6 separate regions of the Homo sapiens genome follow, and all the other regions are linked to region 1. Evidence: promoter capture Hi-C in 16 types of primary human blood cells and fetal thymus (Javierre and others, 2016). All regions are on one chromosome and are shown on one strand. Each heading gives the region's core, a stretch centred on a gene start or on the middle of the fragment in contact. The rest is flanking DNA. Distances are from core to core; before and after follow the strand shown.

The links. Contacts are between HindIII fragments. The CHiCAGO score rates a contact against its expected background, and 5 or more counts as called.
Region 2: a contact is called between a fragment that was not itself captured here and the fragment with the promoter of MARVELD2 in region 1, in 11 of 17 cell types (neutrophils, M0 macrophages, activated CD4 T cells and 8 more). The highest score is 11.7, in neutrophils.
Region 3: a contact is called between a fragment that was not itself captured here and the fragment with the promoter of MARVELD2 in region 1, in 14 of 17 cell types (neutrophils, M2 macrophages, erythroblasts and 11 more). The highest score is 17.9, in neutrophils.
Region 4: a contact is called between a fragment that was not itself captured here and the fragment with the promoter of MARVELD2 in region 1, in 7 of 17 cell types (monocytes, erythroblasts, fetal thymus and 4 more). The highest score is 8.9, in monocytes.
Region 5: a fragment that was not itself captured here is called in contact with the fragment with the promoter of MARVELD2 in region 1 in 11 of 17 cell types (neutrophils, naive CD8 T cells, total CD4 T cells and 8 more); the score reaches 11.9 in neutrophils.
Region 6: a contact is called between a fragment that was not itself captured here and the fragment with the promoter of MARVELD2 in region 1, in 2 of 17 cell types (neutrophils and M1 macrophages). The highest score is 8.2, in neutrophils.

The regions. Positions count from the first base shown.
Region 1 is chr5:69,413,007-69,417,127 of GRCh38, reverse strand. MARVELD2 (MARVEL domain containing 2) reads right to left here and starts at 2,012. Exons shown (of 7, transcript NM_001038603.3): 1 at 1,958-2,012. RAD17 (RAD17 checkpoint clamp loader component) reads right to left here. Exons shown (of 19, transcript NM_133338.3): 19 at 2,327-3,097. The coding sequence ends at 2,836. RefSeq lists enhancers at 469-1,351, 1,352-2,235. The HindIII fragment of the contact is 19,290 bases long and covers 1-4,121 here.
Region 2 is chr5:69,040,921-69,045,041 of GRCh38, reverse strand. No RefSeq gene overlaps it. Among named protein-coding and RNA genes, the nearest start is that of LINC02198, 13 kb to the right of the region's middle. The HindIII fragment of the contact is 5,020 bases long and covers 1-4,121 here.
Region 3 is chr5:69,072,277-69,076,397 of GRCh38, reverse strand. It overlaps the pseudogene LOC100130639. Among named protein-coding and RNA genes, the nearest start is that of SLC30A5, 20 kb to the left of the region's middle. RefSeq lists a silencer at 1,182-1,350. The HindIII fragment of the contact is 6,468 bases long and covers 1-4,121 here.
Region 4 is chr5:69,109,426-69,113,546 of GRCh38, reverse strand. It overlaps SLC30A5 (solute carrier family 30 member 5), which reads right to left. Exons shown (of 16, transcript NM_022902.5): 6 at 320-407. Among named protein-coding and RNA genes, the nearest start is that of SLC30A5, 17 kb to the right of the region's middle. The HindIII fragment of the contact is 2,827 bases long and covers 574-3,400 here.
Region 5 is chr5:69,130,261-69,134,381 of GRCh38, reverse strand. It overlaps SLC30A5 (solute carrier family 30 member 5), which reads right to left. Exons shown (of 16, transcript NM_022902.5): 16 at 3,313-4,121. Among named protein-coding and RNA genes, the nearest start is that of SNORA50D, 28 kb to the left of the region's middle. The HindIII fragment of the contact is 4,208 bases long and covers 1-3,952 here.
Region 6 is chr5:69,150,347-69,154,467 of GRCh38, reverse strand. No RefSeq gene overlaps it. Among named protein-coding and RNA genes, the nearest start is that of SNORA50D, 8.4 kb to the left of the region's middle. The HindIII fragment of the contact is 5,938 bases long and covers 1-4,121 here.

The DNA.
Region 1 (4,121 bases), core at 763-3,262:
TAGCTAGCGCAAATGCCCTGAAGCAGGAGTGCCTGGTATGTTCAAGAAATATTTAGGCATGGAAGCTACTGTGGCAGCAGCAAAGTGGGTAAGAAGGTGAATAGTAGAACTGAGGCCATCTGAATCATGTAGGGCCTTGAAAACCACTGGAAAGAAAGGACTTTGTCTTTTGCTAGGAGTGAGATGAGAAGCCACTGGAGGATTCTGAATAGAGGAGTGACATGACTTGACTTGTTTTAACAGTATCACTATGGATGCTGTGTTGAGAGTACACTCCAGAAGGCAAGAGGTAAAACAGGAAGACTGGCTAGGCCATTGAAATAATCCAATGGATCACTGAGATCTTGAGAAGAGGTCAAATGCTAGACAGGTATTTAAAATTTTTATTATAGAATTTTTCAAACATAATAAAAAGTAGAAAGAATAGCATTATGAACCCTTGTGTACCCACATCCAGCTTCTACACTTATCGATTTATGGCCAAACTTGTTTCATTTATACTCCCCATACTATTTCCTCTGCCAATAGAGTCCTCTGAAGTAAACCCCAGACATCTGATCATTTTATCTATCTATACCTCATTCTCCACCCCTCCAGCTTAGCCTTGGGGAGCAGCAGACTGAAGAGTGTTTCAGATGCGTTAAAAATCCAGGTAGAGACGTTAAGAGGGCAAGCAAGGCACACAGGGTATGTACAGACTGGAGACAAGGGAATGCGGTGGAAACCCAGGGTCTTCTAATAGGGCACTCCGACCTTAGAGGATTAACTGTGATGGCCCCAGCAGGGTGCCCAATGCAAAGCGGCTCTGTATATTATAACAATCAGTTATTTTTGTACCTTTCTCTTTCTTTCTCTAAAAAAGTGTAAGTTCTAGAAATGCTATTACGACTCTAGTTTTTGAAACACATTCCTAAGAAATGTAGAAGCAAAAGCACAACAAATGATTTTAGCAAGTTTTACACAGCATTTACAGGATACGCTATGCTTAATTCAACTCACTGGTAAAAATACGATTCACTGTAATGGATTTAACTCTTCACCTGTGAAGTGGCTTATTTGAATCAAACCACCCTATCCATTTTTAAAGAAAAAACAAGCAATTATTAAAGAGTTGTGGAAAAGCAAGATAATGTGATTTTTAGAAGGGAATGGTTAGCTGTATTTCATTACATCTTAAATATCTGGATACCCCTAATGTCTTTCAAGATGTCACTGAGAGTTCGTTCTGGTCCCGCAGGTCGCGGCAGCGTGTGTCTTTGTCCTGCTCAGGCCCCGGACCCTTACTCCACTCTTGGACACTCATCTTGGAAAGCCGCGGCAATGGCAGGAGAAATGGCTGCCCCAGCAAAGTGTCACAGGAATCATGCCTGGTCACCTTTACACAAACAGAACCACCGGTTTACCTGGCTTAAAAGTTTTGCTGGACCCAAGAAACGGGTAGATTTCGGATACTTCTGCGCTTCCGAGGGGTCGGGAAAGGCTCTGCGGTTCTAACTAACCCACGACTGCCCGGGGGTACCGAGCATTTTAGCTGTGGGGTCTCCCCCGCGCCAGCCTCTGGGCGCCCGGTCCCACAAATCTCATTGTGTCCTCGGTTCTGCCCGCGCCGGCTAGGCGTTCGTCTTCGCGTTTCTGGCTGAAACCCACTGTCTTTGGAGATTCCGACCCAACGAGGCCGAAACTAAGCCGGGAGACCTCCCAGGTAAGGAGCACCGAGATCGCCCCGAGGTGCGCGCCCCGCCCCGCGCCCGGAAGGACGGCGGCTCGGCCGCACCTGCGTCCGCAGAGCGAAACCTGGCGGGACGCGGGCCTCCCCGGATCCCTGGCTCCGGCCTCCCCCGCGGGCTATGGCAGGCTGAGCGCCGAGCGCGGGCAGCCGTCCGTCGCAGCACACCTGGGCCGGGGGCCGCCGGGCCCTCCTCTCCCGGTCACGTGGCCCCACCCCGGTCCCACTTACCTGCGCAGCCGCCAGGAAGAGCGCGCACGCTGCCCAGGACTCTGAAACCGGTATCGGGCTCCCGGGGTGGGGGCGGGGCCGGGACGGGACGAGCCCAGCTTTCCCCGCCCGGCTTTGCCCCGCCCGGATCTGTCGGCCCGACAACCGCTCTGGGCCCAGGCTGCTCGGTGCCACCAGCCGGCACGTCGCGGCAATGACCACACACTGGGCTCTTTTGGAAAGAGTTTACAGTTCTCATCGCAACGTTGCCATCCTCTTCCCTATCTTTTGAAAAGTTTGACACTGGGGGAGGGAGATTGGTGCACTGTGCTTAAGGACCCATGGCAGCGAGTGCGTGCTAGATAATGTTAAAAGACAGGAGAAACAAAATTAAATTCAACATTTTAATTGTGATATAACTTATGTAAATACTTTCCAAAAAGTATCTAAGATATTCCACTGTACAACACATCAAAACTATCTGAGAAGCGGGAGACAATAAAGTGTAAATAAGGCACACAGTTTACACTCGTAATTGCATCCTAAACTGTTGAATAGTTGATATTTACAACCCCCCAATAACGTTTTTGCATCCTGAATTAGTCCTTCACATCTTGATATTTGGCATAATGTTCAAACACACTTTATACACACTGACCGCTCCTTAAACCACTCACAGATTTAATAAATACCGAAAAAATTAAGAGATTTGAAGGCTTGATCTTCTATTTACTTCAAGATGACAGAAGAGTAGGTTTCTTGTGATGAAATACTACAAGAATGAAGAATTAACAAACTGTTGTGTAATTCATCAGAAAAGCATATTAACTCTGCTGAAGTACCACTGAATGAAACAAAAATGAAGCTGTGAAGTAGCAATCTGATTAGCAGGCTGGCTTCTATGTCCCATCACTCTCGTAGTCTTCTATTATTATGTTTTCTTCCATGTCTCCTTGGGCTGAAAAGGGCTGGGGCTGGCTAGCAGGCAGTTCACTGGCACTATTCTGACTCAAAGGAAGAGACCAGGTTTCCGGCACAGTGGCTTGAGTGGGTTCACCCAGAGATTCCTCTGCAGAATGTCCTCCATTAAGCTGGGCTTCATCTCCGCTGTCAGGGTCTATCATTCCATGTTCCCTGTCAGTCAGGGCTTCCATTTTCAATCTGTCAGATTCACAGTGCAGGCATTAATAAGAACCAAAGGAGAAGATTTTTAAATTACACCATGAGTGTGATGATTATGAAGCCATCTTTCATTTACCTACATTGTGCTGTTTAGCTAGTCCCTTTAACTATAAAAACAAAACTACAAGGTAAATGACAAACTGAATAAGTTCCTACAACTTAAAATACAAAAAGGAGCTGAACACGATGGCTCATGCCTGTACTATCTGCACTGTGGGAGGCCAAGGCAGGCAGATCACTTGAGGCCAGGAGTTCAAGACCAGCCTGGCCAACATGGCAAAAACCCATCTCTATTGAAAATAGAAAAATTAGCCAGGCGTGGTGGCACGCATCTGTAATCCCAGCTACTCAGGAGGCTGAGGCAGGAGAATTGTTTGAACCCAGGAGGCAGAAGCTGCAGTGAGCCAAGCTCGTGCCACTGAACTCCAGCCTGTACGACAGAGCAAGACTCTGTCTCCAAACAAAAAACAAACAAACAAAAAAACCAAACCAAACCACAACAACAAAAACACCTAAAAATAAAAAGAAATAATGTCTTCAGTAAAGAATTTTTCTTTTTTCTTTTTTTTCATTGAGACTGTCTTTCTCTATCGCCCAGGCAGGAGTGCAGTGGTGCAATCTCAGTTTACTGCAACCTCTGCCTCCCAGGTTCAAGCGATTCTCCTGCCTCAGCCTCCCAAGTAGCTGGGATTACAGGCACATGCCATCATGCCCAACTAATTTGTATTTTTAGTAGAGATGGGGTTTCACCATGTTGGCCAGGGTAATCTTGAACTCCCGAACTCAGGTGATCCATCTGCCTCCGCCTCCCAAAGTGCGGGGATTACAAGTGTGAGCCACCACACCCAGCCTTCAGTAAAGAATTTTTACAAATTAAAAAGGAAAAAATGAAATAGAAAAATGGGCACAAACATGGACAACTTATAAAACAAATACAAATGGTTCCTAAATTGTTAAATCTAATTTGTAATTTTAAAAATGAAAATTAACATAATGAGCTACT
Region 2 (4,121 bases), core at 441-2,940, 370 kb after region 1:
GCTTGTATGTAGAATTCGAACCCACAAAGTTGAAAATCTTTCCTTTTCAATAGGCTCTGCAATTTGCCTGATAGCAGATTACAAGGACCACTAAGAACACTACTTCCAACCCAACATTATAAGCTACTTAACAGACTAAATATGTTATGAACATAATAAATTTAAAATAAACATATGAGAATCTGTATGACAAATGCATAACATTCCTTTGAAAGTTTTTTATTTTGTGATTTGGGGTGGGTGGGTGTTCACTTACACCACTGATGTTGGAAATGTGAGAACGTTTTGAAACTACAGAAACGATGTAGTTGGAGGACTAATTAGCCAGGTGTAACTCTTCCTTCTGTGAGACAAACAACTCAGAGAGGTTTCCACAAGTGCTTATTAACTGCTCTAAATACTTCTGTTCTTTCCAGAGAACAACAGAAAGATCAAGTCTAGAAAGTTGGTATAGAACTGATGGAAAATATGAGTTCAGATCAGATTAGTACAGAGGACATTTTAGAAAACCAAGTAAAACAACAGGAGTCAATCAGATATGTAACTGAGCAAGGCTGCTAGGATGTGTACTTACACAAGGTGCAAAGATGAAATTACTATTGAAAATCTGGTCATGGAAAGAATGCTGGTTTTTTGTTGTTGTTGCTGTTGTTGTTTGGGGTTTGTTACTGTTTTGCATTGTGAGTATGGGCCTTTTCCCCCCCAGCTCAACTCACTAACATTTCTTGTCAGTTAGACTAGACTCAAGTATTTAAAAAAGGCAGCCTTGGCCGGTGCAATGGCTCACGTCTGTAATCCCAGCACTTTGGGAGGCTGAGGCAGGCATATCACTTGAGGTCAGGAGTTTGAGACCAGCCTGGCCAACATGCAACATGGTGAAACCCCGTCTTTAATAAAAATACAAAAATTGGCTGTGAGTGGTGGCACGTGCCTGTAATCTCAACTACTTGGGAGGCTGAGGGAGGAGAATTGCTTGAACCTGGAAGGCGGAGGTTGCAGTGAGCTGAGATCGCGCCACTGCACTCCAGCCTGGGCAACAAGAGTGAAACCTCCGTTAAAAACAAACAAACAAAAAGGCCAGTCTTGCTTTCTGGGTGGACTAATGGCATTTAGCCAAAATGAAAAAAAAAATCATTAAGTTGAAAAACCCTGCGGGACAGGTTATGCCAAGAGGGTGAATTGGACAGCTTTACAGATGCCTCATGTTAGGAAATTTTCCTGGATTTGAGTCTTCAATGTGGGAGCAGAGTTACCTGAATATATGGAGTTGATGGAGACATTCCTTGATGAGAAGCAGAAATTCCCCAGGGACCTTGTAAATCTGAAGCAGATAAAGGGAAATGAAGAAACCAAGTTTTACAACTTTGATGAGTGGCAAAATTTGTCAATAAGAGCTAGATATTAAGTAATTAGCTTTTAGGAAGCAAAGTGTATTGGACTTGGCTATGATATGAAGGAATTCATTTAATAAATCAAAACGAAAACAAAAACAACAAAAACAAAGAAGCGAAGCATGAATCTCCTAATCAGCAGAAAAGGGAGGACAGCCGGAGACAATCGTATTCCTGATCGATACTGATGTAAACTTGTGCTGGAACAGTAAGTTCTTTGTTTTGTCTTGTTTTTATTTATTATTATTTTTTAAATCAAGGGAGATAACGCTTGTAGAGCCCCACACACTCAGAGCCCTGAGATAAAGGGTACACGCAATGGAGGCAGGGCATCCGGGATGTGAAGGGGGAGTTGTTTCGCGTTTGACTTACTTTGCTGTCCGAGAACGACAAATACATTGAAGTGCCACAACTTGGATAGGAATAAGACGGAAGGACAGAGAAGGATGACAAACTAAATCACACAAAGGCTCATGCGCCACAAGAACTATGAAACCTAGGTGTTCTGAATCTCTGGGTTTAGATTTCCGATTAAAAAAAATCAAACATTCTAGCTGTTACTTGTTATTAGACACTCGGTAGGGCACAGGAGAATCAAGTAAGGGCAGCCATTTGCTGAGTCTCATCTTATACCACAGCGCCACCTATTGGACGCTGATAAAAATACATCCGGAAGTACCTAAAACCTATTGAAGTCCTGTCTACACAATTTTGTAAGTAACTATAAATTCTAGAATCATAGGATTTCAGAGTGATGGGGCTTTAAAAGTCATTGGAGTCAAGTTTGTGTCCAACATTTGAATCACTTTTATAACATATTTGATTAGTGTTTAATTCTGCTCCAACATCTTCAGTGAATGAAAACACACCCTCACTAAGCAGCTCATTCTATTAATATGAATACTTTCACACACTATTACTTTTCACTCAGTGCTTCACCACTCCTTTCTGCAGCACCCGGACAGAACCTAGTGCTAGGTCTTTCCAGGGTTCTTGGGAGTGAATTGGTTTCACTTTCATTGGAATTCTTCTTTGCAGACCCATTGACGGTAGGCTCTGCTAAATCAGTTACTATGCACTTTCTGTGTTTCAAATTATTGCTCATATCTCCTGTCTTCTATTTCTCCTCTCTCATTCTTTTTTTTTTGAGTTTTACTTTTTGTCAAAAATTAATCTATTATCATTTTGATAGGTTTGGGAGGACAGAAGAAATAAAACAAGAAAGAAATAAACCCCACCATGTTTAATTAGGGGCCTAGTCATGTTTTTCTGATTCTGTTCTTTTTTTTTTGAGACGGAGTTTCCACTCTTGTTGCCCAGGCTGGAGTGCAATGGTGCAATCTCGGCTCACCACAACCTCCGCCTCCCGGGTTCAAGCGATTCTCCTGCCTCAGCCTCCCGAGTAGCCGGGATTAAAGGCATGCGCCACCATGCCCGGCTAATTTTTTTTTTTGTATTTTTAGTAGAGACGGGGTTTCTCCATGTTGGTCAGGCGGTCTTGAACTCCCGTCCTCAGGTGATCCGCCCACCTCGGCCTCTCAAAGTGCTGGGATTACAGGTGTGAGCCACCGCGCCTGGACCTGATTCTGTTCTTATGCACGAAAAAAATGTAAGCGTAGGGCTTTACATTTATTTCAGTTAAAATTTTTATTAAGTTTGGCTTATCGTTAGAGCCTTTGGATCTTCACTCTGCCATATTAAATATATTGGCTACCTTTCCCAGCAGTCAGAGAAGTGCATTAGCAAGCCAACTGTACACTCAACTATTTACTCAATGAACAGGACAAGTCTGCAAACAGAATTCCTTTACACTAGAAACTCTGGGCTGACATTGATTCATAATTAGCACCTATCTTTGTGATCATCTGGGCCACATTCTTCTGTCTTGTTCACAAGGTAAAAGTCTCTGTCAAATGCTGAGTTCAAATGGTGAAGCTGCGTATTGACAGCTTCTTCTGATTTGTCAGTCTGGCAGAGTTTGGATAAAAACAGAAGTCCTGTTAATTCATTAGTCATGACTTTCCCTATCTGAATCTTATGCACAATTAAATACTCCCCTTTCTTCTCTCCATGTTCAAGGTGGTGTTAGACAACCTGCCTGAGAATTGCACTATTGATTCCTGCCCCAGTTTCTAGAATTCTTTGTGATAACGAACAGCAGCTCATTTTGTCACCAATCTCTTCTAGGTATAGGCTAGGATGTAGTTTGTTGGGGCCAGGAGGTTTGCACCGATGTAGAGAACCCAGATGCTTTCTTATGATTTTTCCACCAGTTTGGATTTTTAGATCTTTTATCTTAATCCTTGTTGTATTATTTTCTGGCCAGTAATCTTTCTCCTTGGCAGAAATGAAAGATAGAAAATAGGAGATAAAGTGGTATCTGCCTCTATTATCCATCTTTCACTACTCTTGTATAATTCCAGAAAGTGCTCTTTTTAAAAAATTTCTTTTTGAGATGCAGTCTCGCTCTATTGCCCAGGCTGGAGTGCAGTGGCATGATCCTGGCTCACTGCAACCTCCGCCTCTCGAGTTCAAGTGATTCTCCTGCCTCAGCCTCCTAAGTAGCATGAACCGCCATGCTGGGATAGTTTTTGTATTTTTGGTAGAGACGAGGTTTCACCATGTTGGCCAGGCTGATCTCAAACTCCTGACTTCAGGTGATCCATACGCCTCAGCCTTCCAAAGTGCTGGGATTACAGGGGTGAGCCACTGTGCCCAGAAAAGTGCTTT
Region 3 (4,121 bases), core at 607-3,106, 340 kb after region 1:
CCCCTTCCCCCAGCTCTCTCCAGTTACCCGTCCCCAGCTCAGTCATAGAAGAGACCACATTTTCCACACAGGAAGGAGCTCAGGAACCCTGTCAGTGCATAAAGGAGGGCACAGAGAGATAAGGAGTGTCTGGAGAAGGAAGCAGGGAGTCTGAGATGGGAGGTCTCCAACAGACTGCAGGAAGAGGGGCCTGTGGGCAAGAGAGAGGCAAGAAGCAAGGAGGAGGCTCTCAGTAGAGGCAAAGGGAGAAGAGAGGCGGAGCCTACAGTGTCCTTTTAAATCTGGCCGCACCCCGACTTCGGACCCCACCTGCAGCTTGGTCTCACCATCTCCCCGTCCCTCTTTGCATCCTCTCTTCCAGCCCTGAGGCTGGTCTTGCCACTGCCCAGACATTTCAAGTTGTACATTTTCCTTGCCGCCTCCACAGCCTTTCATCTAGGGTCCCTCCCTCTTTTCTGTCCAAAGTCCTTCCCATTCTTTAAGTAAGTTGGAGCACCAGATAAATCCAGGCACTAGAGATGGCGTGTGTGTGTGTGTGTGTGTGTGTGAGAGAGAGAGAGACAGAGAGAGACAGAGAGGAGAGAGGACAGGTATTTAGGGGGCTGGGGTGAGGCTGCACAGGAAGCCGAGGGGGTCAGAGGAAGGGAGAAGGCGGGGGGTCAGAGGAAGGGAGAGGGCGTAGGAGGAGGAGTGTGTGGTGTGGCCCCAGGAGCACCCTTAGACCACTGTGCTGAGGGTGGAGTCATCCTCTGGGTGCACTGGCAACAGGGGCCGCTTGAGGGTGCGCCAGGTTTCATCTCGGTTCTACCATACATAATGCACCAGGTCAGCCACCCCTCAACGGCAGGGGCCACCTTGGTGCTCCTCTGGGCCCTGCCCCGACCCACACAGCTCTTCCTCCCCTGCCAGCGGCAGGAGCTCCTGCCCCACCGAGGTCTGGTCGGGTTCTGGGGTCACACACGATGCCTGTCCTGGTGCCCGGCGCCAGCCTCACCAGCCTGAGCACTCCCTGGAGGGCACAGTCCCAGTTTCACGGGTTGGCGGATTGGTTCACTTGGATCTGCAGCCCCACGAAGGCCTCCACGGGCACCCAGGCCAGCTTTTCAGAGAGGTGGAGGTGGTGCACCATGCACGCCAGGGCCGAGAAGGCTGCCCCTAAGAGGCGGGTGAAGATATTAGGGGACAGGTGCAGCTCCTCCAGGACAGGCGGGTGCTGGAAGGCACCGCGGGCACTGACGCCAGCTGGTTGGCATCCAGGCCTGTGGGTGTAGCTGGGATGCGGCGGGGCAACAGAGCTTAGGCCTGCCTGGCTGCAGCCAAGCGTCAGTTCACCGGCTTCCTCTGCCACATGGCAGCCCTGTGGAGGTGCCCGGGGGCTGGGCACGGTACCCCGGTGCCTGTCACCAGCGGGAGGGATGGGAGGTGACAGGCTGCTGGTGGGAGGATGGCCACAGATGGGCAGGGTCCCGGAGTGGAGTAGGACCCCTGTAGGCGGCAGGGCCTTCTCCTGTGCTGCTGCCCTCTCCCGGAAAGTAGCCTCCCTGCTGCTGGGCTCTGGAGATCCACTGCCTCCTTCACAAGTCCTGTTTGCTCCTGGCTGCTGGAAGTTGCCGGCTGGGGCCGAACAGTGTTGGGTTTTCTGGCATGTGGTTCCGGGCCCAGGTGTGGAATACCTGAGCCATGGCTTGGCCAGTCAATGCCAAGAGAGGGCAGATCCTGGACCTGGATGAAATCTGCCATGGGGAAACCAGGCCCCAATTCCAATTCCTGCCTCTGGCTCCCTTCCCAAAGCCTCGGCACTGCCATCTTCCTTCACCCTTCGAGTTTGGGACTTCCTCCCAGAACCCCTCTTCCTTGCCCAGAGCCTGGCTGGGCAGAAGGATCCCGGCTTGGCAGGCCTGAGGTGCAAAATAGGGTGGGGCCCATCTCACATCCACTGCCTGGCAGCAACCTGTATCCCCCACCTCCATCCATCCCTCTGCTGTCCTTGGCCTTTCTAGCATGCCCTGTGGCACTTTCTTCCATGGTGAGTGGACTTCCCTTGTCCTTTTCCTTGGAAAACATGTCTCTCTTCATGGGACCTCATTTCCTGGCTTCTCACAGTACTCAGCCCCTTTCTATTCTTCATCCTAATGTAAACATGTATGACGAAAAGACTTGAGGAACTAGACTTTTCAAGCTCCTTCTGGCTCTTTAATACTAAAATTTCATATGTAATTAAAAAATAGAACCCAAGGGCTGGGCGTGGTGACTCACTCCTGTAATCCCAGCACTTTGGGAGGCTGAGGCAGGCGGATCACGAGGACAGGAGTTCGAGACCAGCCTGGCCAAGAGGCCAGCCTGGCCAATATGGTGAAACCCTGTCTCTACTAAAAATACAAAAATTAGCTGGGCATGGTGGCGTGTGCCTGTAGTCCCAGCTATCCAGGAGGCTGAGGCAGGAGAATCGCTTGAACCCAAGAGGCAGAGGTTGCAGTGAGCTGAGATCTCACCACTGCACTCCAGCCTGGGCAACAGAGCAAGACTCCATCTCAAAAAAAAAAAAAAGAAAAAAAAATTGAACCTAAGATTCATAGGCCTTAGTATATTTAGTGAATAGCTCTTATTTACCTTTATAAGTTCTCTTTGTGCCTGACTTATTTCTCATTACCTTCATGCTCTTATTGTATTCTGATCTTGAATTAAATAGATGCCGGGGATTTATAAAATAGAGTTATAAGAAATATTTTACAGCTATTAAAGTGGGCATAATTAAAAACCTTAATGCAGTTTCAAGAATACTGTAGAGAACTCCTATGTTCCCTCCACCTGATTCCCTAATCGTTAGTAACGTACCATATCTGCCTTATTATTCTTTTTCTCTCTGTATAGATAAAGATTATTTCTTTTTCCAGAACCATCTGAGAATAAGTTACAGACATGATGCCAATCACCCCTAAATACTTTAGTGTCTGTTTCATAAAAATAAGGATACTCTTCTATGTAATCACAGAATGCCCATGAAAATCAGGAAATTATCATTGATACCATAGCACCTTCTTTTTTTTTTTTTTTTTTTAGATGGAGTTTCACTCTTGTTGCCCAGGCTGGAGTGCAATGGCACGATCTCAGCTCACTGCAACCTCCTTCTCCCAGGTTCAAGCAATTCTCCTGCCTCAGCCTCCCAAGTAGCTGGGATTACAGGTGCCTGCCACCATGCCTGGCTAATTTTTTGTATTTTTAGTAGAGACTGGGTTTCACCATGTTGGCCAGGCTGGTCTCAAACTTCTGACCTCAGGTGATCCACCTGCCTCGGCCTGCCAAAGTGCTGGGATTACAGGCATGAGCCACCGTGCTCGGCCACCATAGCACCTTCTAATCCACAAACTTCATTCAAATTTTACTGATTTTTCCCAATAAAGTTATTTATAGATCCAGGATCCAATACAGGATCACGTGTTGCATTTAATTGCCGTGTCTCATTTGTTTCCTTCTATCTGCAACAGTTCCTAGTCTCTTCTTTCTTTCATGACCTGGAATTTTGAAGAGGACAGGTCGATTATTTTGCAGAATGTCCATCAGATTGTGTTTGATGTTTCCCCATGATTAGATTTAGGATAATCATTTTGGCAGAAATACTGCAGAAGTGATGTCGTGTTCTTTTTTTTTTTTGAGACGGAGTCCCACACTGTTGCCCAGGCTAGAGTGCAGTGGCGCGATCTCAGCTCACTGCAACCTCCGTCTCCTGGGTTCAAGTGATTCTCCTGTCTCAGCCTCCCGAGTAGATGGGATTACAGGCTTGTGTCACCATGCTCAGCTAATTTTTGTATTTTTAGTAGAGACGAGGTTTCACCAGTTGGCCAGGCTGGTCTCTAACTCCTGACCTCAAGTGATCCACCTGCCTCGGCCTCCCGAAGTGCTGGGATTACAGGCATGAGCCACCAAGCCCAGCCAGCTGTGTTCTTCTTAATGCATCATCTCAGAAGGCATATGATGTTGATTTGTCTCATCACTGGTGAAATTAACTGTCATCATTTGGTACGATGATGTCTGCCAGATTTTGCAATGTAAAGTTAGTAAGTATTTTTGTCTTGAGATACTTTGAGACTATGTAAAAATATTGTTACTGATAACGCATTTAT
Region 4 (4,121 bases), core at 738-3,237, 300 kb after region 1:
AATTATAAGGGAGCAAACATGTTGAGTGGCAAATCACCTTTTTTTTTTCCAGCACCAGGACATTCCAAAATATTCTTTCAATGTCCCTACATTTCTGAAAATTTAGGGTACTGTAGGTGATACAGAGATGCTATAAAATATTTAACTTATAATGAGTTTGTTCATTATTTGAATACTGATTTAGAATATCTACATTAATCTATGAAAGTTTCATTCATCATTGATCAGTTTAATTCACTTATCCTTTCTTTTTCCATTGTTCCAGGCTTCTAGTTTTCCTCAAGACTTGAAACAACTCTGATCTATTCCAAAAGGATACGGTGTTCAGCCATTTTAGCCATGAGATCATCATTGTCAAAAAGCAATAAACAGATCACAGCAATAATGAAAAAAGCAGCTCCCCTTGTCTGAAAATAAAGAAAACAACATCAAGGATGACTTTTTCAAGGGTTGATTTTTAAGACCGTAACTACATAAATACTAAAGAAAAACATTTTCTCAAGTAAGCATTTACAAAAATGCATTAAAAAACAGAAAAAAATCTGACATTAAAGCTCTTACATATTATAAGCTTACAGTATTGGCAGTAAGATATCAAAGAGATATAAACTAATGATAACATTGATTATCTCTTTGCTAACATGGCTGGGCATATTACTATGTACAAATTGGTACTGTTTACAGAATCAGCCTTCCTAAATGCTACTTTACTTCTGGTTGAAAAGCCCACGTAGCTAAAGAATAACTAGTAGGAACTTATTTTACTCTACAATATGCAAGGAATAGAGAATATTCTAGATACTACTCCTCTAGAGAAAAATAATCCAGAGGGCACGGTAAAACCAGCAAAGTCATTTCTAAGATCTAGTAAAGTACAAAGTACTTAAAAAGCTGATAAAATTTATGTTCTCATTCCAGGGAAAATTTTTTTTTTTTTTTCAGACAGATCTCGCTGTCGCCCAGGCTGGAGTACAGTGGCGTGAACACAGCTCACTGCAGCCTCCAATTCCTGGGCTCAAGTGATCCTCTTGCCTCAGCCTACCAAATAGCTGGGACCACAGGCATGTGCCACCATGCCTGGTTAATTTTTTATTTGTAGAGACCAGGTCTAGCCATGTTGTTCAGGCTGAGGAAAAAGGTTTTCATAAAAGAAAATTATAGAAAGGACATATTAGCTCGGTTTATGTAAATATTTCAGAATGGTAGCTTCAAGAGCAATCTAAATAGCATTACTATACATTCCTTTTTTTTTTTTGAGGAGAGTCTCTGTTGCCCAGGCTGGAGTGCAATGGCACGATCTCGGCTCACTGCAACCTCCATCTCCCGGGTTCAAGTGATTCTCCTGCCTCAGCCTCCTGAGTAGCTGGGATTACAGGTGCACATCACCATGCTTGGCTAATTTTTGCATTTTTAGTACAGACGGGTTTCACCATGTTGGTCAGGGTGGTCTTGATCTCTTGACCTCGTGATCCACCCGCCTCGGTCTCCCAAAGTCCTAGGATTACAGGCATGAGCCACTGTGCCTGGCTAAACAGCATTACTATACATTCTATATTTACAAATTTACAGGTATAACATGTCTTGTATGATACATATACTTGTAGAATACCTATTATATATAGATACATTAAGTGTATTATATATACCTATAATGGAAGTATAATACAATACTTCTATTAAAGTTTACAATGCAAAGTGAGGATACTCTTCATTCTATGATTACCACTATAATGGATAAATTCTGTTAGTGTGGTATTACAACAAAATTCAGTACACTACACATGAGAAAAACCATGTACTTTTAAATTTCTTAAGTTTTCACTGAGTTAGGATATGGCAACATCAACAACAATCAAATACAGAGAACATAACTTAATCTTTTTGTTAACAAAGAAGGCAACTGAGAATTTTGTAATGCTTCAGTCTCATAATTAAGAAAAAAAGGCCAGGCGTGGTGGCTCACGCCTGTAATCCCAGCACTTTGGGAGGCCGAGGCGGGTGGATCATGAGGTCAGGAGTTCAAGACCAGCCTGACCAATATGGTGAAACCCTGTCTCTACTAAAAGTACAAAAATTAGGCCAGGCGCAGTGGCAGGTGCCTGTAATTCCAGCTACTCAGGAGGCTGAGGCAGGAGAATTGCTTGAACCTGGGCAGCAGAGGTTGCAGTGAGCTGAGATTGTGCCACTGCACACCAGCCTGGGTGACAGAGTGAAACTCTGTCTCAAAAAAAAAAAAAAAGAAAAAGAAAAAAAAAGTCCGGGCGTGGTGGTTCACACCTGTAATCTCAGCACTTTGGGAGGCCAAGGCGGACAGATCACAAGGTCAGGAGTTCAACACCAGCCTGGCCAACATAGTGAAACCTTGTCTCTACTAAAAATACAAAAATTAGCCAAGTGTAGTGGCATGTGCCTGTAATCTCAGCTACTCGGGAGGCTGAAGCAGGAGAATTGCTTGAACCTGGGAGGTGGAGGTTGCAGTGAGCCAAGATGGTGCCACTGCACTCCAGCCTGGGCAACCCAGTGAGACTCCATCTCAAAAAAAAAAAAAAGAAAAAACAATCATCAAGTCCTGGACTGATGCCCTGATCCATTTCTCACACTAATGAGAACACTCTCACTTCTAGTTACTTAAGGAGGAAAACTTTTTTTTTAAATGTTTTCAAGTCATTTTTATTTCTTTTGTGAGTTGTCATTCCCAGTTTTTTGCTGATTTCCTGCCAAGGATCTTAAGCATTTTTTAAACTGAAATGGGTGATTTATACTTTGAAAGGAATGTAAAACTTATTTCTGGCAATTTTTGTTGTTAGTTTTTTGTATACACACTGATTTCTGTTATACGTTAAGTTTATAATCATTATGAAGCCAAATATAGTGAGTTTTCCCTTTGTGATTTTTTCCACTGCTTTTATGCTCAGAATTTTCTCCATCTACGTATTTTATTCTATGTTTTTACAAATGTCTATTTTGTAAACTCACAAAGCTCTTCAATCCACTTGAAATTTATTTTGGAGTACTCTATTAGTGAGGGGGAAGGATTAAATAGTGGCCCATGCTTTAATACTAATGACCCAGTTTGAAATCTACAGGCAGAGTATTCTTTTACTCTGCTCTACTTGGCATGTTACTTTGTTCACTTCATTACTTCATTCATCTCCCTTCATTACTTTGCTTGAAAGTCCCTTTCAGAATAGGGACTATTATACCTTATTTGTCTTTATCTATCCTTTCCTTTATGTCTAGGAAAATGCACCATGCACAGGAAGTGTGGGAGATCAGTCACAGTGGTGGGAGAAATTATAGGAATAGAAGCAAACCTTCTTGGAAGGCTGGGGGTTTTGCAAGTTTTGAAGGATATTTTGGCTGAAGGCAGCCAGATTCTCTTATCAGAAGCCTAAAAGCTTAAGGCGTAGATACAAGGGAGTGTAGAGGAGTTTATCTAAATAGCTCGTTTACTCATGTTGTCCTAAAACCGACCTTTGATCATTTGCGCTCAAGACTGCTCTCTATGTAGGGGGTCAGCAATGTTATTTACCCACAAAGCGTGTTGATTCAAGGCCTTTGTCATTAAATCTATACTGAATAAATGCCCGCAGTGCCAGCTTGTCAGGGCCGCAGCTGCTGACTCTTTACAGCACCCTCCTTAGGGTCTGTAAGCGGCCTGGTTCCCTAGCCCACTCCTTCACTAAATACCTGTGTCTGAGTGCATTTGTTGTTCAGCCAGGGTCTGCAAGTAGGACCCAGCAAGGAAGTGTTTAATTTGGTAAAACAGAAACACTATATAGTTCTAACAGTTTGGAATTGTAGATTGGTAACTCATTTAACAAAAGGATAATACTTGAATCACTTAGGATGAATAGGAGTGCTTAGGTGGCAAAATGTTGGATAAATGTTCATCATAATTTAAATTTAACAAGTTTTTAGTTATTTTTCAAAAATGATTTACAGGGTTAAGAATGAGTAGGGGGTTTGGGGGAAAGGTGCATGAGTACAACATGAAAGAGATCATTGTGGTGATGCATCAGTTCTATATCTTGCTTGTAATGATGGTTACACAAATCTACACATGACAAAATTTCATAGACCTACATGCATACATACATACATACACACACACACGATCG
Region 5 (4,121 bases), core at 599-3,098, 280 kb after region 1:
GTGGGAGGATCGCGGGAGGCTGAGGTGGGAGGATCGCGGGAGGCTGAGGTGGGAGGATCGCTGGAGCCCAGGAGTTTGAGACCAATCTGGACAACATAGAACCTGTTTCAACAAAAAATAAAAAATTAGCCAGGCGTGGTGGCATGCACCTGTAGTCCCAGCTACGATAGGGAGGCTGAGGTGGGAGGATCACTTGAGCCCAAGAGTTCAAGGCTGCAGTGAGCCATAATGATGCCACTGTACTCCAGCCTGGCAACAGAGCAAGACCCAACTCATAAAATAAAAGTAACCTCCACATTCTGAAGTTTGCTATTTGCTTGTGGCATCAAATCTCTCTAATCTCTCAGTTACTTATGTCTTCTCTTCCCTACTGTAACAAGCATATTGAAGGTAGGGTTTGTATCTGATTCATCTTTCAAGTTTACAAATAAGGGGCCATGAATATGTTACTTAGTTCAAGTCACCATCCTCTCTCATTTCAGCTTCAGCAAAAGCCTTCCAACTGTCCCCTAGATTCCACTCTTGCTCTCCTACCCTGATTCTTTTGAAACACATTGGCTCAAGTCAGTACCTTATTTGGAGCCATCCACAGACTTTCCAAGTTCTCAACATGCTGTCTGTCTAAGTTTGCTGCGATCACCGGCCTCTTGCTTCTTTTTTTTTTAATCATGCTAAGCACCTCCTGTCTCAAATGTCCTTGCATTTCATTTGATGTTCTCTCAGTCTAGAATAGTAGCTGTTAGTAGAAGATGGTTTAGAATCCTGGAGATTGTTTGCCTCCTGACTTCAATGCAGTGCTGAAGTCTTCTTCCATAGAAATCCTCTTCAACCACTCTCTGGCACCTCTATAACTCTGTCCTTGAACGCTGCTTTAGTTGAGTCTCAACCCTGAATCCAGAGTGCCTAGTTGAGAAAATTGGCTTTCCCACTTATAACGTGTATGATTTGGGGCAGGTTAATTAACCTTTTCCTGCCTCAGTTTCTGCATCAGTAAAATGGAAATAATAATTACACATATTTATTGTTTAGAACAGTGTCCATCTGGAACATGGCAAAAGTTCAGTAAGTTATTGCTTTTCTTCACAGCACTTACTACATTTTATTACATACTGGTCTTGTCTTCTACATTAGAAGTAAGCTCCATTAGGGCAGGACTTTGTATTACTGAGGACTTTATCCCTAGCTCCTAGTGCAGTGTATTTAGTATAAAGGCCTTCAGTATTTGTTATGAGTTAATTTACTGAATGTTTAAAACGCCATAAATTGCTATAACAGAAGAAAAGAATTATAATTAAAAATAAAACACAGGCCGGGCACGGTGGCTGATGCCTGTAATCCCACACTTTGGGAGGCCGAGGTGGGCGGATGGATCACAAGGTCGAGGTCGAGACCATCCTGGCCAACATGGTGAAACTCTGTCTCTACTAAAAAAAAAATACAAAAATTAGCTGGGCGTAGTGGCGTGCACCTGTAGTCCCAGCTACTCAGGAGGCTGAGGCAGGAGAATCGTTTGAACCCAGGAGGTGGAGGTTACAGTGAGCCAGATTGCACCACTGCACTCAAGCCTGGCGACAGAGCGAGACTCTAAAAACTAATAAATAAAAACATAAATAAAACACAAAAAGCCATAAATGATTGTATTATTTTCTTTCTTTTTTTTTTTTTTTTGAGACGGAGTCTCACTCTGTCACCCAGGCTGGAGTGCAGTGGCACGATCTCGGCTCACTGCAACCTCCGCCTCCCGGGTTCACACCATTCTCCTGCCTCAGCCTCCCGAGGAGCTGGGACTACAGGCGCCCGCCACCACGCCCCGCTAATTTTTTGTATTTTTAGTAGAGATGGGGTTTCACCGTGTTAGCCAGGATGGCTATAATCCTCATACTTTGGGAAGAAGAGGTGGGAGGATCACTTGAGCCCAGGAGTTCCGAGACTTGCATGGGCAACATGGTGAGACCCTGTCTCTACAAACAATAAATTAGCTGGGCATGGTAATGTGCACCTGCAGTCCTACCTACTGGAGAGGCTGAGGTGGGAGGATTGCTTGAGCTCAGGAGTTCAAGGCTGCAGTGAGCAATGATCATGTCATTGCACTCCAGCCTGGGCAACAGAGTGAGACCTTGTCTCTGAAAAAAAAATCCAAACTCCCCTCCCTCAAAACAGGCTTCTATTTTGGGCATTATTTTTAACTTATTTATATGTTAAACATCTAATTAATCTCTTGAGATGCTAATTTATAGAAAAAAAGAGACAAGTTAATGACGGCTACCTTTGAAGTCAGGCTTAAAAAGTAACAATTCTTCGTATTTAGCCTTTTTCTTTTTTGTTTTTGAGATGGAGTCTTGCTCTGTCACCCAGGCTAGAGTGCAGTGGTGCTATCTCGGCTGCCTGCCAGCTCCGCCTCCCAGGTTAACGCCATTCTCCTGCCTTAGCCTGCCGAGTAGCTGGGACTACAGGCGCCTGCCACCACATCTGGCTAATTTTTTGCATTTTTAGTAGAGACAGGGTTTCACCATGTTAGCCAGGATGGTCTCGATCTCCTGACCTCGTGATCCGCCCACCTCGGCCTCCCAAAGTGCTGGGATTACAGGCGTGAGCCACCGCACCCGGCCTATTTAGCCTTTTTCAACTTCCACTGCATTTTCACATACATTATACCTTTTGTTCCCATATCCTGTGCTGTAAATTTGAGCAGGTTTTATATAGTTTATATATGAGGAAAAAAAAAAGATACCTCAGAAAGGCTGATTTGCCTAAAGTTGCATGAATTTTTTTTTTTTTTTTGAGATAAAATCTTTCTGTGTCACCCAGGCTGGAGAGCAGTGGTGCCATCATGGCTCACTGCAGCCTTGGCCTCCTAGGTTCAAGCAATCCTCCTGCCTCAGCCTCCCAAGAGGTATGTGCCACCATGCCCCAGCTAATTTTTAAAAATTTTTGTAGAGATGGAATCTTGCTATGTTGCTCAGGCTGTTCTCAAACTCCTGGGCTCAAGCTATCCTTTTGCTTTAGCCTCCCAAAGTGCCAGGATTTCAGGCAAGAGACACTGCACCTGGCCTAGTTGCATGATTTGCATGAGCTGAAATACAGTACCCTGGTGCTTTCAATATTAGAGTTTCCATACTTTATAATTGTACCTCCCCAACCTTCAGCCCCTGCTCTCTCTCACTCTAATATCTCACAATCACATTAATTTTTTTGCTGTTTATATGTCTTCTAAGGGAAATGACAATTTTAACTTTGGTGTAATATTTATTGCACCTATCTACTTAATTTTTTAATGTATAAAAATTGCATTAAAACATCAATATGCAATTATTTTCCCACCACTCAAAAATTTTAATATGTATTGAAGATTTTGGCCAAAAAATATGCAAAAGACAAGGAATATAAAAATAACTTACAACAAATTTCTAAAACCCCTCATATATTAAAATTGGTAAGACAAAAATATGATTTATAATACATGTTTGCCATTGTGGTATATATAAGAAAATAGTACTCATACTAAATTCAATCTACTTATCAAAATTCTTAATATAAGAATGAAAATATTCAGATGTTATAAATAGAAAGACAGGTATTAAAAAGTTTCTTTTGGACAACATTCTTTGGTGCTGATAAAACTGCATGTTATTGTCTATGGTAAAGTCTTTTCAGACTTTACTACATATCTAGTTACAACTGGAAATGAAAAAAATATAAATTAGATATGACTATAGAAAGTAGTTATAGGGTATTTTGATTTCATGGTGCTCAAATGTTTATGAACAAGTTTTACTTATTAAACTTTGAAATAACTACCTATTCTTTGATATTTCTTATATATCTATATGTTCCAGAAATTAGAAAAAAGTTACCTACATAGGCAGAGAATTCAACTGTGAGTTGACAATTATTTACGATTCTCTTAACTGGCTGTTTCACAACGTTATGGAGCTAAGAAAGGATGAAAGCTTACCACTGCTTGGATACCAGCTTGATAAGCAGCTTGGAATGTCAAATATATAACAAGAAAGGAAATATTCTACTTTAAAGGAACATGGTAAGTAAATGAATAACATGGACACAACTTAGTATAAGTTCTTTACCCTAATAAATTAATTATTCATTTGCAAATATTACCA
Region 6 (4,121 bases), core at 1,146-3,645, 260 kb after region 1:
GTAATATAAGAATGATAAAGTAAAGCTGGGTGCAGTGGCTCACGCCTGTAATTACAGCACTTTGGGAGGTTGAGGCAGGTGGATGTCTTGAGCCCAGGAGTTCAAGGTTAGCCTGGGCAACATGGTGAAACCCTGTCTCTATGAAAAATACAAAAATTAGCCAGGTGTGGTAGTGCACACCTGTAATCCCAGCTACTTAGGAGGCTGAAGTGGGAGGATTGCTTGAGCCTGGGAGGTCAAGGCTGCAGTGAGCCATGATCACACCCCTGCACGCCAATACTCCAGCTTGGGTGACGGAACAAGACCCTGTTAAAAAAAAAAAAAAAAAAAAAGAATGGCAAAGGGCAAATTATATGAAAATAAGGTAAAAATAATAACAAATGAACAAAAATATTACCTTAGCCACTATGGGGAGAATATATGGGGTAAGGGGAGGATGAAGGAGAGGTGGGAGGAGAAGAGAAGCAAGGGGGCCAGAAAGAGGCTATTGCAAGAGACCAGGAAAGATGATGGCTTGGATGGACTATTAGAGGTGGACAGAAAGGGATGGGCCAGCATATGTTATGGAAGTGGAGTTGCTAGGTCTTAATGGTTTGCATGCTTGAGTGAGAGAAATAGGAATCAAGGATGACTCCTGGGTTTTGGCTTGAGTAACTGAAATAGAAAAGACCAAGAGAGGACCACCTTTTAGAGGGTAGCAGGTTTTGGATAGGATATTATGAATTCTGAGGCCAGGCATGGTGGCTCACGCCTATAATCCCAGCACTTTGGGAGGCCGAGGTGGGTGGATCACCTGAGGTCAGGAGTTCGAGACCAGCCTGGCCAACATGGTGAAACTCCATCTCTACTAAAAAAACAAAAATTAGCCAGGCGTGGTGGTGGGCGCCTGTAATCCCAGGTACTTGGGAGGCTGAGGCAAGAGAATCGCTTGAATCTGGGAGGCAGAGGTTGCAGTGAGCTGAGATCGTGCCACTGCATTCCAGCCTGGGTGACAGAGTGAGACTCCCTCTCAAAAAAAAAAAAAAAAGAAAGAAAGAATTCTGCTGTATTTGGAACGCTTAGAGATATACAGGACCCAGCCAGGGCAACATAGTGAGACCTCATCTCTACAAAAAACTCTTTAAAAAATTAGCCTGGTGTGGAGGCATGCACCTGTGATGCTAGCTACTTGGGAAGCTGAGGCAGGAGGATCATTTGAGCTAAGGTGGTTGGGGCTGCAGTGAGCCATGATCACACCACTGTACTCCAGCCTGAGCGACAGAGTGAGACCCTGTCTCAAAAAAAAGATATACAAGAGGCGAGGTCTACTAGTCTACTAGACAGAGGTCAGGATGGGAGATATAATCCCTTTTTGCTGTAGAGGGCCTTTTATGCCTGACACAGATGAGATCATCTAGGGAAGGAACATACAGAAGAGTAGATGCCCAGAAGCAAGGTCTGGGCCTTCCATATTTAAAGATGGAGCGGAGGAAGAAAAGCCATCTAAGAATATTGGGCAAGAACACCAGAGAGGCAGGAGAACTGATTGTGGTATCTCAGAAAAGAGAAGTCAGTGTTTCACAGAGGGAGTAGTGATCTAACATGACAGACTAATACACACGTATCTTGGTTACTTCCTCAAGCTCTGCCAAAACAATGGTTTTTAAAAGATGCATGATGGCCAGGCACGGTGGCTCACACCTGTAATCCCAGAACTTTGGGAGGCTGTGGAGGATCACTTGAGCCCAAAGGTTTGAGACCTAGGCAACATAGTGAGACCCTGTTTCAAAAAAAAAATTAGCCGAGCATGGTGGTGGGCGCCTGTAGTCCCAGCTATTCAGGAGGCTGATGCGGGAGGATTACTTGAGCCTGGGAGGTTGAGGCTGCAGTGAGCTATGATCATGCCACTGTACCCCAGCCTGGGTGACAGAGTGAGACCCTGTCTCAAAAAAAAAAAACCGAAAAAACAAAAACAACAAAAAAGAATTGGTTGTTGATATTTTTAGCTGGATGAAAATATTTTTAAAATATAAAAAAGAATTTAAAAAAGAAAAGAATTGGTTGATTCCATCCTGCTCAGCTGAGTGCAGTAAGAGCACAACCTCTCCTTGGTCCTGGCAGACGACTAGAGGTTTATGTTCTGGAGTGGCTGAACTAAAGGGGTTCTGGATTTCAGGAGACCAGGCAAGCTGAGAGGGGCTTTAAGTAAAATTGTGCATACCAAATGGTAAGACCTCCAGTCGCCTTCTCCTACCCAGTCCCCAAAAGGCTGGCAGCTGGACTTATACCCTTCTAAGTGAAGTAAGAGAATGGTTTCTGGGGAATGGATCAGCCCAACAGAAAAAGTTCTAAAAATATTGATGGTTAGGAAAGGTCCCCATGAAATGACTGGGCCACCGCTTGGTTACCCTTATACTGAAGCTCACCACTTGACATGCTTGCACACTGACACAGAGCTTCTAATACATATATATGGAGAGAGAGAGAGAGAGAGAGAGAGAGGATCTTGCTATACTGCCCAGGTTAGTCTTAAACTCCTGGGTTTAAGTGATGCTCCTGTCTTAGCCTCCTGAATAGCTGGGATTACAGGCATGAGTTACTATGCTTGGCCTAATCTATATGTATGTATATCTTAGCCTCTCAAATAGCTGGGATTACAGGCACAAGTCAGTATACCTGGCCTAATCTATATATACAGATATATATAGATCTACAGCATTACTGGGCTTGGGGTGTCCCCTGGAGAGATAAAGAGAGAGAGGCAGACAGAGTCTCACTCTCTGGCCCAAGCTAGAGTGCAGAGGTGCGAACATGGCTTCTTTGCAGCCTCGACCTGCCGGTCTCAAGCCATCCTCTCACCTCAGCCCCCCAAGTAGCTTGGACTACAGGCAAGCACTACCACACCCCACTCATTTTTGTATTTTTTGTAGAGATGGTGTTTCACCATGTTGCCCAGGCTGGTCTCAAATTCCTGAGCTCAAGTGATCTACCTGCCTTGGCCTCCCAAAGTGCTGAGATTACAGGTGTGAGCCACTATGCCTGGCCAATATGTGTGTTTTTTTTTTTTTTGAGATGGAGTCTTGCTCTGTTGCCTAGGCTGGAGTGCAGTGGGCACAATCTCAGCTCACTGCAAGCTCTGCCTTCCGGGTTCATGCCATTCTCCTGCCTCAGCCTCCCAAGTAGCTGGGACTACAGGCTCCCGCCACCACGCCCAGCTAATTTTTTTGTATTTTTAGTGGAGATGGGGTTTCACTGTGTTAGCCAGGATAGTCTCCATCTCCTGACCTCATGATCCCATGATCTGCCCACCTCAGCCTCCCAAAGTGCTGGGATTACAGGTGTGAGCCTGGCCTGTTTTTTTTTTTTTTTTTTTTAGACAGGGTCTTACTCTATCACACAGGCTGGAGTGCAGTGGTACAGTCATGGCTCACTGCAGCCTTGACCTCCTGGGCTCAAGCAGTCCTCCCATCTCAGCCTCCCAAGTAGGTGGGACTATAGGCGTGAGTCACCACATCTAACTTTTTAATTTTTTGTAGAGATGAGTTCTCAATATGTTTCCCAGGCTGCTTTGGAACTCTTAGGTTCAAGCAATCCTGCCTCAGCTTCCCGATGTGCTGGGGTTACAGGTGTGAACCACCATACCCAGCCTTAATCAATATATTATTATTTTTTGAGACCGAGTCTCACTCTGTTGACCAGGCAATAGTGTGATCTTTGGGCTCACTGCAACCTCTGCCTCCTGGGTTCAAGCAATCCTCCTGCCTCAGCCTCTTGAGTAGCTGGGACTACAGGAGCCTGCCACCACGCCTGGCTGATTTTTGTATTTTCGTAGAGATGGGTTTTCACCATGTTGGCCAGGCTGGTCTCGAACTCCTGACCTCGTGATCCACCCGCTTCAGCCTCCCAAAGTGCTGGGATTACAGGTATGAGCTGCCGCACCTGGGCTCAATATTTTATTTTATATTATCATTTATTTTATTTTATTTTTGAGACAGAGTCTTGCTGTCGTCTAGGCTGGAGTGCAGTGGCACGATCTCAGCTAACTACAACCTCCGCCTCCTGGGTTCAAGTGATTCTCCTGCCTCAGCCTCCTAAGTAGCTGGGATTACAGGCCTGCGCCATCACGCTTGGCTAATTTTTCT